2 separate regions of the Homo sapiens genome follow, and region 2 is linked to region 1. Evidence: promoter capture Hi-C in 16 types of primary human blood cells and fetal thymus (Javierre and others, 2016). All regions are on one chromosome and are shown on one strand. Each heading gives the region's core, a stretch centred on a gene start or on the middle of the fragment in contact. The rest is flanking DNA. Distances are from core to core; before and after follow the strand shown.

Region 1 (2,686 bases), core at 77-2,576:
CGCCATGCACTTTCACTTCTGCTTTTTCATTTACTTCTCACAGCTGTTCCCAAGCAGGAATTATCCTATCCTATTATTCCAAGGAAACCGAGGCTCATAGATGCCCAGAGATGGGTGAGCCAGGGGCAGCAGGTTAGACCCAGGCTGCCTCCAAATCCAGGGGTCCCTGGGCAAGCCTTGGTCTGGGCTCCGTTGATCCAGGAGGCCGTGCCTGCACCCACAGAGCGGACTCCAGCCGAGCCTGGGTGCCCGGAGCAAGGATGTGGGACCTGAGCACGCAGCTCCCCGCCACGGGCCCTCCCAGTGCCTATGGCCCAGGCCACCTGGCCCAGCAGACACATACAGACTCAAACAGCCCTGGGTTCAGATGGCAGCATTTCACATATTTGTTGTGCAACCCCAGGCAAGCCCTCTCCCCTCTCCAGGCCTCAGTTTCCCCTGCTGAGAAGCAGAGTGAGGATAAAAATCAAGGGGTCTACACACGGGCCATGACTTGTTTCCATCTGCCGGACCTCGGTGCTCACTGGGACCCTGCCTTGTGCCTGGTGCCCAACCCAGCACAGGCCTGCCTGAGTGACGCAGCATGGCCCCGACTCTCAGCTGGGTCACCACCTCCTCTACCAGGGCAGAGAGATGTGCAAGGCCCGGACTGGGCAGAGCTGGGGCCAGCCTGGGTCAGTCCCTGCCTGACACTTCCTAGCACTGGCTGAGGTGGCACTGGGCTCGGTCATAGGCCACATGCTCACCTTTGCCTCAGGGCTTTTCAGGCCCTTTCTGGAACTCTTCTCATCCCCATTTGATAAATGAGGAAACGGAGGCCCAGAAGAGTTAAGTAGCCCACCAAGGTCAGGGTGGAGCTGGGATGTGAACCGAGCAGCTGGGGTAAGAGCCCAGGTCAGCTTCCCCGTCCTCAACCCCTGAGCATCCTATGAAGGGGTCAGGCCAGTTACCTCGTTTCCCTGGGGTGCCTGCCTCCCTTCCATCCTCTGAAGAATCATCCCTTGAGGACTTGGATGGGAAGGGGGCCATCAGCCCCCAGGGAAGGAGGTATTATTATCCCATGTTTACCAAAGAAACAGGCCTCACAGCAGGCTGGGACCTGACCCGGCTCTGCCCCATCTAGCGTGTGACTTCCCCTGCCCAGCTTCAGGGGAGACTTTTAAAGACCCCCAAGCTTGCCTTGGCTCTAGGGATCCCCCCAACCCCCACATTTCTCTGGCCCAGAGACCCCCGATGAGCTGGATAGTCCCTACCTGTGTCCCCTTCGCCACGGAGGCGGCAGGCAGGCGCCGGACAGGCGCTGGCACACAGGTGGGCACCCTCTGCGGCCTGCAGCTATGTGGCCAGCAGACTTTGGCACCATCTCCACCTCCACTGAGCAATCATTAACCCTGCCAGAGACCACACCTCCCAGGAGGGGTCGACTCCTAATGAGGCAGAGTACAGCTGGGGGCGCCGGACAGGAGGAAGGGACCAAGGCGCCAGAGCTCCTGGCGCTCCTGGGGCTGGAGGCCCACACCACAGGAGAAGGGGCCTGGCCGACCCTGAGCCCAGAGGACCTGGGAACAAGGCCCAACACTGGGGCAGGCTGGAGGCGGGGACGGTGACAGTCAGAAGGTGATGCCAGAGCCCCCGTCCCCTCCCTGCTACGAGTCTTCAGTGACAGGGGATCTGTGGACAAGTGGGGGATTGAGTCAGGAGAGGGAAGTGGTAAAACAGTGTAACAATCAAACACTGTGTGGCCAGACCAGCCCCTGTGAGGTTCTCGTGGAGGACTGGGGGCTAGCTGAGCCTGGACAACCCACTTTCGAGCCTGTTGACACTGATCTCACCCCGCATTGAGACCCTCAAAAGGCATCTGCCCGTCCCCAGGGGCTTCATCCACTCCCAAGTTGCCTTTTTTTTTTAATTATTTATTTATTTTTGAGTCAGAGTCTTGCTCTGTCACCCAGGCTGGAGTGAAGTGGCACAATCTTGGCTCACTGCAATCTCTGCTTCCTGGGTTCAAGCAATTCTCCTACCTCAGCCTCTCGAGTAACTGGGATTACAGGCGTGGGCCTCCACACCCGGCTAATTTTTTTTGTATTTTTAGTAGAAACAGGGTTTCACCATGTTGGCCAGGCTGGTCTCGAACTCCTAACCTCAGGCGATCCGCCTGCCTCGGCCTTCCAAAATGCTGGGATTACAGGGATGAGCCACGGAGCTCGGCCCCCAGGCTGGCTTTAAGCGCTGCCCGATGTGGTGGCCTCCCGAAGGGGCTCAGCCACAAGTCCTTCTTATCCTCACTTTGGCCCAGCCATCACAGTTGACACAGAAAGGGGACCCTGGGCACAACTTTCTTAAGGCACACCACTGAGTCGTCACCATTGGGTGGCCCTCTTCTTGTGGGCAGAGGACATGTCTAATTCACAATAGATATATAGTCATGCACCATATATCTGTGTTTTGGTCAACAACGAACCACACATATAATAGCGGTCCCATAAGAGTATAATATCATCTTTCATGGCACCCTTTCTGTGTTTACATGCACAAATACTTACCCCTGTGTTACAGTTGCCTGCAGCGTGCGGTACAGTCCCAGGCTGCATAGGTTAGCAGCCCAGGAGCACAGGCGGTGGTATAGAGACTGGGTGTGTAGTAGGTGGTACCGCCTAGGTTTGTGTAAGTCACTGTGTGATGTTCA
Region 2 (2,686 bases), core at 91-2,590, 74 kb after region 1:
TGAGCTGAGATAGCGCCACTGCACTCCAGCCTGGGTGACAGAGGAAGACTCCATCTCAAAAAAAAAAAAAAAAAAAAAAATTAGTTCAGCATGGTGGTGCTGCGTGCCTGTAGTCCCAGATACTCTCGGGAGGCTGTGGTGGGGGAATCGCTTGAACCCAGGAGGCAGAGGTTGTGGTGAGCCGAGATCATGCCAATGCCCTCCAGCCTAGGTGACAGAGCGAGACTCCATCTCAAAAAAAAAAAAAAAAAAAAAAAGGGACTCTAATCTTACCATCTTCCCCAGTGTGCAAATGACTGCTCCCTCCTCTAAATACCAAAATTGTTTTCTACGTCTCTTATGTGCCTATTGTTTCCTATCTTATGATTATTTACATTCATTCTATTGCCTTCTCAGAGGGTGTAATGTAAGTTCTCTGAGAGCAGGGAACAATTCACTGTAATATTCACTAGTACCAGGCACACACTATGGGCTTAAATCGTAGAAGAATCAGTCCAAGTTAAAAGGACCTTTTTGTATAAGCTTCAGTCATCATAGCTATAAGCTGAAATCCTCTAGATATTATCACAAAATCTCACTTTACATTAATACACTGTTTTTTTTGTTTTGCTTTGTTTTTTTAAGACAGGTTCTGTCTGGCTCTGTTGTCCAGGCTGGAGTGCAGTGGAACGATCTTGGCTCACTTGCAACCTCTGTCTCCCGCTCTCAAATGATCCTCCCATCTCAGCCTCCGAGCAGCTGGAACCACAGGTGTGCGCCACCACACTTGGCTAATTTTTCTATTTTTCTTGGGTAGAGACAGGATTTCACCATGTTGCCCAGGCTGGCCTTGAACTCCTGGGCTCAAGCGATCCTCCCGCCTTGGCCTCCCAATGTGTTGGGATTATACACGTGAGCCACCATACCTGGTTACTGGGGTTTTTTAACTTCAAATGTTCTGACTAGATGCCAAGCTGGTTGTTAAAACATTACAAATTTGTAGAATTTTCCTGAAAATCAGTAAGTCAGGAAAGAGCTCAGGAAGCAGTGTTTGTTCTTAAAGCTCCTCAGCTGATTCTAATGTACAGCCGAGCTGGGAAATCCGTGGTATTGATAGTAATTCTTTTTTTTTTTTTTTAGACGAAGTCTCGCTCTTGTCCCCCAGGCTGGCGTGCAATGGCACGGTCTCGGCTCACTGCAACCTGCGCCTCCTGGGTTCAAGTGATTCTCCTGCCTTGGCTCCCCAAGTAGCTGGGATTACAGGTGGCTGCCACCACGCCTGGCTAGTTTTTGTATTTTTAGTAGGGACGAGGTTTCACCAGGCTGGTCTCGAACTCCTCACCTCAGGTGATCCACCCGCCTCGGCCTCCCAAAGTGTTGGGATTACAGGCGTGAGCCACCGTGCCCGGCTGGTATTGATATGTAATTCTAAGTAGGAATAGAGATTATAAATCCCTCACTAAAGTAACTTTTAGGCTACGCACAGTGGCTCACACCTGCAATCCTAGCACTGTGGGAAGCCAAGGTGGGTGGATCACTTCAGCCCAGGAGTTAAGACCAGCCTGGCCAATATAGAGAAACTCCATCTCTATAAAAAATACAAAAAAAATTAGCCGGGTGTGGTGGTGCGCCTGTAGTCCCAGCTACTCAAGAAGGATCATCTATTCAGGATCACCTGAGCCTGAGGAGGTCAAGACTGCAGTAAACTGCGCCACTGCACTCCAACTTGGGCAACAGAGAGACCTCATCTCAATAATAATAATAATAACCTTAAATAAATGGTTATAAACATTGCAGGAGAGAACAGAGTGACTGCCATCTTTAATATACTGAAACACTTAACCTAATTTATAACCAAAACACTTTTTAAGTAGTGAAGCAGGGTGAGCTGGAAACCCAACTGAACAAGCCTGCTTTCAATTACTACTGATCAGTACTAAAACTATGCCCTAGAAATAAGTGATGCTGGACACACCTGGGACAGGATTATTCATTCATATATCAACATACATTCACTATATATCCAGGATACAGATACAGTCCCTGCCCTGTTTAAATTTTCATCCTAGTAAATGGAGACTGGTCAAAACAAACCACACATACTGAAGAAAATACACTAACAAAATTTTCATTTTGTTCTAGAAGATTCCTTTAGATTGGGTGCTCAAGGAAAGCTTCCTCAAGGAGATAATATTTGAGCAGAGATCTGAATGAAAGATAAGGGGCCAGTCATGGGGAAATATCTGGGAAGAGTATTCCAGGCAGAAGGCCAACATATGCAAAAACTGTGAGACAGATAAAAACCCACAGACCTTTACAGCAGAGTGAACCTTAATGTATGTAAATTTAAAAAATCATTTAAGAGATCAGAGGCTCTCCGGATGGAACACAGACTTTGACAAAAGAATCTAATTGTCTAGAAAATATGTGAAACAACCTCACCAAAGGGGGAAGGGGGGTGCTAAGAAACTTTGGAAATGAAGTCTATAAGACTAAAGGCAACAGGAACTACACTTAAGCACTGTTCTCTACTTGATAAGGTTTTTCTCCATGGGAATACGTATTCTGAAGCCACTATATCTGCATATGTATCCCAGATTTGAACAATTAAGTAAAAAGATGGTGAATGATGAAAGCCAGTTTTCTGTCTGTAGAAGTGAGAGGTGACAGATAACCAAAGGAAGAAGGCTAGAATGGATAGAGTGGT

Evidence for each region. Contacts are between HindIII fragments. The CHiCAGO score rates a contact against its expected background, and 5 or more counts as called.
Region 2: a contact is called between a fragment that was not itself captured here and the fragment with the promoter of CDHR2 in region 1, in 1 of 17 cell types (non-activated CD4 T cells). The highest score is 5.6, in non-activated CD4 T cells.

The regions. Positions count from the first base shown.
Region 1 is chr5:176,547,982-176,550,667 of GRCh38, reverse strand. CDHR2 (cadherin related family member 2) reads right to left here and starts at 1,326. Exons shown (of 32, transcript NM_017675.6): 1 at 1,254-1,326. RefSeq lists an enhancer at 121-1,054. The HindIII fragment of the contact is 9,099 bases long and covers 1,177-2,686 here.
Region 2 is chr5:176,474,199-176,476,884 of GRCh38, reverse strand. The region is part of intron 1 of FAF2 (Fas associated factor family member 2); the gene reads right to left. Among named protein-coding and RNA genes, the nearest start is that of FAF2, 27 kb to the right of the region's middle. The HindIII fragment of the contact is 1,631 bases long and covers 525-2,155 here.